Regions from separate parts of the Homo sapiens genome. Here regions 1 and 2 are each linked to region 3. The links are contacts of gene promoters, found by promoter capture Hi-C in human tissues and cell types (Jung and others, 2019). All regions are on one chromosome and are shown on one strand. The core of a region is centred on a gene start or on the middle of the fragment in contact, and the rest is flanking DNA. Distances in the headings are between cores, read along the strand shown.

What was found. Contacts are between HindIII fragments. The study calls those that stand out against the background at their distance.
Region 1: a fragment that was not itself captured here is called in contact with the fragment with the promoter of TMEM14A in region 3 in 2 of the 25 tissues and cell types used here (H1 embryonic stem cells and mesendoderm cells).
Region 2: a contact is called between a fragment that was not itself captured here and the fragment with the promoter of TMEM14A in region 3, in 3 of the 25 tissues and cell types used here (dorsolateral prefrontal cortex, hippocampus and mesenchymal stem cells).

Annotation. Positions count from the first base shown.
Region 1 is chr6:52,928,291-52,931,775 of GRCh38, forward strand. No RefSeq gene overlaps it. Among named protein-coding and RNA genes, the nearest start is that of GSTA3, 20 kb to the left of the region's middle. RefSeq lists a silencer at 3,081-3,375. The HindIII fragment of the contact is 8,249 bases long and covers 1-3,485 here.
Region 2 is chr6:53,036,837-53,040,486 of GRCh38, forward strand. CILK1 (ciliogenesis associated kinase 1) reads right to left here. Exons shown (of 14, transcript NM_014920.5): 3 at 1,103-1,157. Among named protein-coding and RNA genes, the nearest start is that of CILK1, 23 kb to the right of the region's middle. The HindIII fragment of the contact is 4,968 bases long and covers 1-3,650 here.
Region 3 is chr6:52,669,681-52,673,198 of GRCh38, forward strand. It overlaps TMEM14A (transmembrane protein 14A), which reads left to right and starts at 1,433. Exons shown (of 5, transcript NM_014051.4): 1 at 1,433-1,565. RefSeq lists enhancers at 649-1,149, 1,138-1,297. The HindIII fragment of the contact is 4,412 bases long and covers 1-3,501 here.

The DNA of each region.
Region 1 (3,485 bases), core at 299-2,798, 260 kb after region 3:
AGGAGAATCACTTGAACCCAGGAAGCAGAGGTTGCAGTGAGCCGAGATCGCATCACTGCACTCCAGCCTGGGCAACAAGAGCAAAAACTTCTCGAAAAAAAAAAAATCAAATGAAACCTTTAAAAAACCATACTTCAAAATGGACACTTCACTTCTTTAACGTTTTTACTATTCAACTATTATCAAATATGTAGCTTGTATAATATACCTAGTTAGAACGAAGATTTGATGTATAAATCAGTTTCAGCTTTTTTTTTTCACCATTTGGAAAAAATAAGATACTCCAGAAAAATTCAACTTTCCCTCCCACTGAGTTACCAAAGGGGGGAAAAATTGATTAGAATGTGTCTTCTTTGCTTCTGCTGACCTCTAATGGCATCAGAAACAGTGTTTTTGTTTTTTTATTATTTTTTAAAATTTATTTATTTTGAGATAGAGTCTCACTCTGTCACCAAGGTTGGTGTGATCTCGGCTCACTGCAACCTCTACCTCCCGAGTTCAAGCGATTCTCCTGCCTCAGCCTCCCAAGTTGCTGGGATTATGGGTGCCCACCATCACTCTTGGCTAATTTTTGTATTTTTAGTAGAGACGAGGTTTCACTATGTTGGCCAGGCTGGTCTTGAATTCCTGATCTTGATTGATCCTCCAACCTTGGCCTCTCAAAATTCTGGGATTACAGGTGTGAGCCATCGTGCCTAGCCAGGAACAGTGTCTTTAAAAGAAGCAAAGAAAACAAGTAAAATGCAAGAAGGAAAAAACAAAAGTACCCGCTCTTTGTAGAATGAATATAATTCATAGTACCCCAAACATGTTTTAATTAAAAATGAATTTTTATACCACCAAAACTGTAACTTTTTGAATGGTGATAAAAATGTACCGTATCCTCTCAAACAAAAGGTTGCTATAATTGCAAAAATAATAACCATATTTTGTTTGGAAACAATTTGAGTAAAAGATCTCATCCTAAATTTGCAAACTGGGAACTGCCCAAATCAGAGCTGAATTCATGGCAGACCAGGAAGAAGTGCTGTTCACATCCAGTTCTCTGGAGCCACTAATGGAGAGGGGTATGGGCCCAAGGATAACAAGGCCATCCCTGCCAGGGCTGCTCAAGATCTGATTATCAAGAGATGGCCAAGGGCCAGCCATGTAGCCAGGAAGGCTGAGCAAGCAGATGAGTCATGTGCCAGGCAATATCTATACAATGTGGAGAGTACTAATGTCTTCATTTTAGAAATGAGGGTCACACAGATAAAAACTTGCTTAGTCATCCATCTGGTAAGTGAAAGAGCCAGATCCCACATCTTTCCAGTGTCAAAGTCCATGCTTTTTTTGTTATATCATATGCCTCTCCCCCAGAGTAAAAGGGAAGAAGCAAATTGTGATCTTGGGCTTGAAGAGAACATGAACAAAAGACACCATTCCCGGAAGTGAGTGAGGGTCTCAAATCTGAAGCAGACAGAGATGGGGGGTAAGGATCCTTACGTACAGAGAGCAAACAGGGGATGCAAGATCATAGAACATTCTCACATCTGGAGAGAACCCGAGACTGTGTTTGGAAAGATGAATGATAACACAAGGCAGTGTTGCAAACTTTAATGGGTACACAAGTCACCTGGGGATCTTGCCAAAATGCAGATGCTGATTCAGTAAGGCTGGGGTGGGACCTGAAACTGCATTTCTAACAAGTTCCCAGGTGCTGCCCATGCTGCTGGTCCAGGGCCACACTGTGAGTAATGAGTGTAAACAATGTAAGCCAAATGGGCGGTTCAGACACAAGCGCTCTCTGCAGGTGAAGCCCTCCACACCAGGTGGGGGACAGAAGGCGCTTATGGACAGCAGCTGAGAAATCACAGCCATCAGTGCTTCAGACACAAAGGCCTGCAGAATGCCTGTGATTTTTTGTTGCTGATATAGTTCAACTGTGGTTCGTACTGTTTTACTTCGCAAAAGGCATACAATGGTACCTTTGACCAGAATTGTTGACCTGGGAGTGTTATCTCTTTTCTATTGGCTGAAATGTTTTAAAATTTCCAATCGTGGTTAAACTACCCATGAGGCTTCAGAGTGTTTATTTACTTGTAGGCATTTGTGTTAAAGGATGGAGAGGCTCTCACTCTGCCTCTCCTTCTCCAGAGTAAAGGAACTCTTTCCCCACAATTCCACTTTTCAAAGCTTAATTCTTGGTGAAGTACAAGCAGCAGGACTGAACTGTGGGACCAGACATGGAGGGGCTGGTAAGAAGCAAATCCCAACTGGACCAGGCCTGAGCACATATTCAGGAGGAGGGAGGCTTTCCTGCCCAGGACCAGCAATGAGGCTTCTATTGAATGTACCTCTGTTCCTGATTTGAAGGACTTCGACGTCCTATTTGATGGCTCAGAGGCAGATACAGTCTTCCGGCCTGCCAGTAAAAGTCTCTGCTCCTCCTTTCTAGGTTTGGAAAGAAAGGGGAAGAACTGCAATTTATTGAAGGTCTGCTGTGTGCCAGGCATTGTGTCTAATCCATCACTTGATTAACAGACACACACACACACACGCACACAAGTACATGTCGAAGAAAGAGTCAGAAAGCAGCCTCTGGTTTTTCATTTTGGTTGAACTCATTTCATTTGTGGGCATCAATGTCTGTCCTTAGAGTCTACAGATAAACCAGACCCTTCAAGGACATCTTTTTGTCTTTTTTGATGTGGATGCCCTGATTAAACTGGAGATGATTTTGGAAATAGCTCATGAAAATTTACTTGAAGAGGCTTTGCAATTTCATTCCCAGAAGAGGCTGAGGGTTGCACCCCCCTTCACCAGAGGTATCTCCACTGTGTCTCCAGGGTATCACCTGATTTGATGAGCTCTGGCTTCCCTTCCAGTCCTGGGGCTCCCCTGTCTGTATGTTTTACACTTCACAGGGCACTTTATCACTACACAGAGGTACTCTCTATGATGCCTTCTGAGAAGAAGAAATGTAACTAAATTATAGTTTTAAATTCATCCACAAAGACCTGAAAAGAAAATGTAATTAACTAGATTATTGGATTCTTTTGCAATTGTAAAGGGAAATGGGGGCATTTAGAATTCTGGGAAATAGCAACTACTTTTAAGTGTACATTACAGCTCTATGAACAGGTAACATGGCTTAAGTAACACTTGAGAATTCTCCACATCCCCCCTCCCATTTGTACTGGCATCTTTGTTATGCACAGTCTAGTAACAATGCAGATCCTTCCCTGACCTTCCTCTGCTAGAGTAATTGACAAGAGGCACCTGGAGTCAGGACGGCCTGTGCTCAAACTGTCTTTCAAGCACATACTGGATCTATGATTGTGGAAAGTTACTTAACATCTTTGGGACCTACTTATAAGGTACTTGTGAAGATTAAGTAAGAGGTAAAATCTGCTTAGTGCAAACCTAGGCACAGATCAGGCCCTCAAAAACCGTGGCCATGAGGCTTATTGTTTCATTAACAATGGAAGAGGCTGTGGAAAGAG
Region 2 (3,650 bases), core at 558-3,057, 370 kb after region 3:
CTTCTCACTGGAAGACCTCTAATACAGAAAATTATACTAAATTATTATTACATTTTATATTTTATAAATAAAAATTTTATGGAAATTTGTTTTTGCTCTTGTTACACATGTATCTATATAACATCTTCAATATGACCTTTTAGTCCTAGAAGCATAAAAGACTGACTATCTGGCCCTTTACAGAAAACGTTTGCTGATCCCTGCTTTAGACTTGTAACCTCACTTCCATGTACAGGACCCCTTTGGAGAAAAAGAAAGGGTGTTTTTCAGTATTCTATTAGGTGTTTCAAACAGGGCTGGGTGAGAGGACTAAAATTAGATGAAGCACCACTCCACTGCACAAGGAAGAGAATTATGCATGTAAAACTCAATGTGATCAATCTACTCTGACAGAGAGAAAAATTGGAACAAAATCAATAGAAGAAGGGGCAGGGGGAAAGGAGGAGAATAATGAATCCCAGGGGCAGGGGGAAAGGAGGAGAATAATGAATCCAGTCAGAAGGCTGAATAAAAGTAAAGATCGGTGCTCCACAATGCTTGACATGGCACAAAAGAAGGACCTCAGCAAGGAGGAACGGATGAGGAATCTTGTAAGGTGCCTCCTTTCTACCCGCTTCTGCCTTCCCTCCCCTCTGTGTTCAGGGTTAGGCTGTGGCCCAGTGCTGGTAAGTCTGTGTGAGGCTCAACAAGCGCAAGGGTGTGGGGGTCAATGAATTTCCTCACAGAAAGTGGAGTGCAAATTATTAGAGCAAGAAACTGAAGTAAGTACTGCTATTATGTCTAGGAAAAACACTCAACAAGTGATTTTCCTTTACGTTAATAATTAAGAAAATAGGCAATAATAATTCACTAAATCAACACATTCAACTTCTTTATATTGAAATATATTGATATAAGTGATCCATTAAAGATGAAAGCTTTCTAATAACAGTATATACAATTATACCATAATCTTCTGCTTCAGCTGTAATGTTATCATTTGCCTCCCTTTCCAGCATTAGTGAAAAAATTCAAATGAAATGACTATATCAACTATAAATCTAAGCATGTACAAAGCTATTTTAATCATCCATAAATTATTCCTTGGTATATTAATATATACCTTAACCTCCCGAAGGTTCATGCATTCCTCCCAGGAATAAAATTTTCTTTTCATTCTAGAAGAGAAGAAAGAAACAAACAGCACACTTATTCTCAGTAATAGGTTAAACTTTGCTTTTAGAAAAATGCTTCCATTCTGATCCTAATTAACAGTACTTAAAGTGGGTTTAAATTTCTACCCAGTATTATACTATCCCAAACCAGCACTTATTTTCAAACAGCAGTGCAATAATCCTAAGTCACAAATTTTGCCAGTAGCAGTGGTGTGGTGCAGTCCAAAGAGGCCTGGACTGCTGTCTTACTCTATACTAACTAACTAACCTTGCTCTGGAAGGAAATTGCTCAGGCTTATTCTATTTAGACCAGAGCTGTCCAGCAGAACTTTCTATATTGGTGAAACTGCTCTGTGCTGTCCAGGATGGTAGCCACTAGACACATGTGGCTACCGAGCACTTTGGCATGTGGCTAGCACAATGTGGGAACTGAATTTTAATTTTAATTAAATTTAAATTTAAATGCCACATATGGTTACTTGCTATCATACTAGACAGCAGAGTTCTAGACCCTCTAGTGCAGGAGTCAGCAAACTATGACCCATGGGCCAAAACCTCACCACCATCTGTTTCTGTACAGCCCACGAGCTAAGAATGGCATTTACCTTTTTAAATTGGGGGACAAGTCAAAAGAAGAATAATATTTCACAATGTGAAAATTTTGTGCAATTCAAATTCCAGTTTCTATAAGTGAAATTTTATTGGAACACAACCATACTCATTCATTTATATACTGCCTGTGGCTGCTTTCAAACTACAACAGCAGAACTGAGTAGTTGCAAGAGACCATATGGCCTGTGAAGCTTAAAATATTTACAGCCTGGCCCTTCATAGAGAAAGTTTGCCAACCCCTGGTCTAGAGCCTCAATGGAGAAAAGAAAACTCCAGAGTTAATCAGAAATTCAACTTTCAAGGTTATATTTTTCAGTGCATTTCAATCACATTGTCTCATTTGTCTTATAGCAGTCCTGTGAAACAGATAGGACAGCTGAGGAAACAGAAACAGAGAAGGTACACGACTTTCCCGAGGTCTTACTGCTGGCCAATAACAAACTTCCCATCTCTCCAGCTCACTCTGTCCTTGTCACACTGTCTCCCGGTAGAGTGATCAAATCCTTTATTCATGCCCGAAATATTATTTAGCCCCTGCTATGTAGTACAGTAGGTGCCTTGTCAGGCACTGGAGAGACAATGATGAGAAAGACATCCCTCATGAAACTGACATCATGGCAGGAAGGTAGAAAATAATTTTCTGTACCAAGTGCTGTGAAGAAAGGAAAAGGGCCTATAAAAGTGAACCTGACGGGAGCAGTGGCTCAGCCAAATGATGCAGCAATTTGTAGGTCACATAAACATTTGGGGCTTCATCCTAAAACTGCCAGGAAGACATTGGAAGCTGTCTTGGTTTGGATTCCTCCAAAAGCAGGGCCTGGGCAAGAACTTGGGTGCAGGTAGTTTATTTGGGAGGTGATTCCAGGAAGCCAGGGCAAGGAGCAGGAGACTGAGAAAAGAGAGGTAGGGAACCCAATAATGGGTGTATGAGTAAGCCAATAACAGGGTTGGCAACTGGCTCAGGCAGGCTGGGGACCTTTTAAGGAGCTGGACAGAATGCACCTTGGTTGAAAGTCTCCCACATGCACTTGGGATGGGGTGCTGGCATGGGCATAGAGCTGTGCGCTACAGCTGCACTGACATCAGGTGGGAGCAAGGGATGTGTTCATGGAACACAAAGAACATTTGGTCAAGTAGTTTTAGATGATTGAAGTTGTATGTTTAAAATAATCCCTTTGGTCTGATATGAATAGGGGGAAAAAAGCCAGGAGCCCTAGTGGCGGAGGACCTCATGGTGGAGGTGGCAAATGGTAATGGGTTGAATGGAGGTTAGCAGTGGGAATATACAGAAGTAGGTGGATGACATAAATATTACGTAAAATTGACAGTACTAGATGACTAAAGGTGAGGCATAATGGGGAGGGAAGGCAGGAGGACTCCCAGGTTTTGAGGGTATAGTACCAATTATTGAAATAGGAAACACTGAAGAAGAAACAAATTTGGGGTAAGAGAGAATATGCTAAATATGAGTGTAGTTTTGGGCATGGTGAGTGTGAAATGTCTGCAGGGCATTCAAATATAGATGCTGACAAGTCAACTGGATAGAGATAGTTGTGGCAGTCTCCAATGTGGTTCCCAGAGACTCCCACCTCCTGCTACCCAGGGCCTTTTAGAACCCCCTCTCCTTCAACGACTTGCTTCTAACCAACAGAATATAGCAATTTGACAAGGATGTCACTTCTGTGATTAATTTACAAAAGCAAGATATGACTTCCATCTCAGTACAAGTCTCTCATTGCCTTCTTGACTCCCAAGTTTTGATGAAGCAAATTGCCATGTTGTAAGCTGCTTTTTAGATGCCCACATGGCAAGGAACTGAGGGCAGCCTCCCACCAACAGCCGGCAGGGAACTGAGGCCCTCAGGCCAACAACCCATAGATCAAC
Region 3 (3,518 bases), core at 183-2,682:
AGAAGGTGAGGAGGCTGGGGTAAGGATGGGCATAGAAGGGGATGGAAAGGAGGGCTGAGAGAACTCAGAACCAAATTTCAGGCTATCACTTTCTCCACGCCACATTCCAGTGCCTTGCCATCAACTCTTCTGTGAATCTTCAGGAATTTTATTAATTCCCCAGGACCAACTTAGACTTTCATAAGTTAGATGTAGTTATATTACTTCCCTGAAGCACTTTTATGCACAAAGAATAGATGTAGCAAACAAACTTCACAAGATTTAATTTTTGAGTTTCCTTTTTTATTCTGAGGAATTCCGCTGTAATTCTCAGTGACACAGAACCTCTAGAGCTACTTCACTATGACAACCTTCTTCAAATCTCCAAAGGGCTGTTACATAAGGAAGAGGGTCGGAGTTCTGTATTCAATCAAGAAGGCAGAAGATTGAGATGATAAGTTGCTACAGGGAGGCATAATTTAAAGTCAATTTAAACTGTAATCCCAGCACTTTGGGAGGCAGAGGCGGGAGGATTGCTTTGAGCTCAGGAATTCAAGACCATCCTGGGCAACACAGTGAAACCCCGTCTCTACAAAAAAAAAATAGTCGGGTGAGGTGGCACACACCTGTAATCCCAGCTACTTGGGAGGTTGAGGCTGGAGAATCGCTTGAACCCAGGAGGCAGGAGGCAGAGGTTGCAGTGAGACGGGATGGTGCCACTGCACTCCAGCCTGGGCGACCGACTGAGATCCTGTATTTAAAAAAAAAATAAGGTCAGTTTAAGTTTCGTTCCTGGGATTGAGCGGATTGCCTTGCATTAGGCAAGGTTTTAAGTGCTTTCCAACTCTGGAATTCTATACCTTTCCCAGTAGATATCTAAACCCAGCAAATCCTGGGCCTGAAGTTTAAAACTAGGATCCTCGTCTCCCAACCACATCTAGATGATCCCATAGTGTAATGAAGGGTGCTTGGGCTTTGACACCAGGCAAACTTGGATTTTGACCTGGGACAACTAAGTCACTTGACCTCACTGAACCTTAGCTCCCTCCACTGACAGTGGGGACAGTCTGCTGGAGGGTGTGTAGAAGACCTCGGGTTGCCTTTTGGAGGTTCTGGAAATGTCCCTTGAAAGATGAATGGAGTTAATTTAAAAATCTTCGCCTTCTGTAATTTTGGCTTCTTGCAAACACGCTTCCTGCCAGTCCTGCTCCGTCAGGCGGGAGGCAGCAAACCCCAGCCCTGGCTCCAGGACAGGGCCGAAGGCAGGATAGACGGAGCAACGGGTCCGGCTGCCGCCGGGATGTTGCAGCACAGGGCCTCCTGGCTGCCTGGCCTACAGGCCGCCCGGATTCAGCCGGAGGGCATGGACCGGGTGGAGTCCTGCAAGGCGAGAAGGGACACAGCGCATGCGCGCGGCAGGGAGGGCGTTTCCAGGAGGGAGCGGCCTTTGCTCAGCGCGAGACGGCTGGGCGCCGAGTGGGACAGCGCTGGTGCGGAGACTGCTTCCGGACTCCAGGTACCGCGCTTGGCGGCAGCTGGCCCCAGACTTCTGTCTTTTCAGCTGCAGTGAAGGCTCGGGGCTGCAGGTGAGCTGTGCATCCCGCAATGGAGACCTTCCTGCTCTGAATTTTCTTACAAAACTGCAGAAATATAAGGGGCGTTGCTTAGCGGGCATCCCCTCCCCCGCGCCAAACCTGTACAGCAAACGATGATGCAGAGGACCTTGAGGGGATTTTGCAGGGCATCGGTCTTACCTCCGCGGTATCATTTTTCTCCTCCTCCCGAGTTTCTGCCTTCTGGTATCCCTAAATATCCCACCTATCCTGCCTCCTACCTTCCTGGATCTGGGGTGGTGGGGTGGGCTCATGGACCATTGCAAAATGCTTGGCAGGATTTTAACCTTCTCAGCACCACCCAGACCCCACTCGAAAATGTGCCTTTTGTGCCCTCCAAGAGCTCAAGGGTAGGTAATTGTTATATCTTTAGCATGTGAAAATGCTTTTTATGTAACAGTTCACCGAAAATCTCTTAATTCTCCGAATTTTGGAGGATTTGGGGCGGGCAGCGAGGCTGTCCCCTGTCACCTTGTTTTGTACCTGGTATGGTAAATCGTTTTGCTGCATTGCATCCAAGATGCGTTTTAGTCCTTCCAAGGCTTGAGCATCACATTTGTGATGAGAGCGTGTGATGTGCTGTGCACATCCTCTCCCACCTTATCCCTTCCATGTTAACACAGCCTCTGGCTTTAATGTGTGCTTCTGGCCTGGCCACATGGCTCCGTCATGGAATAGGTGATTCTTTTGTCTGAATATTCTCTGTGAGAACAGAATCTTCTTGCAAGCATTGGGAGTAGATTTATTTTGCCTCTTTAGAACAACAGTCAGTTCGCTAAGGAGATTAAGGGGCTACCTGTTTCCTGGCAATAAAGCTGTATTGGGTAGGTCAGTTACAGAATGTCTTCAGGCAGAAGCTGTTCCTTTGGTTCACTCACTCATTTATTCATTTAACAAGTATTTTAAGTACCTGCCTTGTGCATGGCAGGGTTCTTGGTGCTGTGAGGAGGACAAAGATAAACTGAACCTTGGTTTGCCCTCAAGGAGCTTGGCTGGCTGAGAGTTGAGAGAATCCCAACCAAGTAAAAGGGTATGGGTCCTCAAGAGAAGATCGCAGGAAGAGCTGGGGGGCTCAGGATGGAGTGGAATTAATCTTTCACAACAGCTACTTAGCTTTAGGAGAAAATTAGGTCTAGAAGTTACACCTGATAATGAAAGAACTCTCATAAGCTTCAGATCTGTATGTAAGGGTGTTTTCCGGACTGTGTGTTGGGCGTCTCAGACTGAATACATTCTAAACAGGTCCCATCATTCCTAGCCACCTCCCTCTTCCCACCGCCACACACCTGCTGCTGTTCCCATGTTCTCTGTCTCAGGGAATAGCATGAGGCTCCCCGACTCCCTACTTCTCCTAATGGTCTAAGCCAGATACCTAGGGGTGAGTCATCTCTGATTCACCCCTGACTTTCCCTTCCCGCCTCAAATTCAATTCTGATTCTACCTCCTGAACTTCTGAAATCTGTCCACCTTCTCTCCATTCTCATTGCCATTTCTCTAGATAAGCCTACCGTTATCAACTAAGCTCTTGCTTACTTTACTGCAACAGCTTCCCGATTTATCTCCCTGCCTCACTTCACAACCCATCTTCACTACTGCAACTGGGAAGTGCTTGCTGGAATTTAAATCTGATTGTGAGGCTCCCTTCAGTGATCCTTCATTGCCCTTAGGACGGAACCAGACTCCCTTTACGGGGCTTATGTGGGTGTACAGCCCTGTCTTTCTCACCAGCACCCTCTCTTTTCACAAGCCCCTTGCACTTTTCATTTTGAGAACATGCTTTCTTGTGCCATTAGGGCCTTGCACATGCGCTCCCTTCTGCCAGGAACACCCTTCCCTGCACCCTCTTCACTTGACTTATTCATGCTCCCCTGTAGGGTAAATGCACCTGACAGCAATAATTAAAGCATACCCTTAGAATGACCCTGT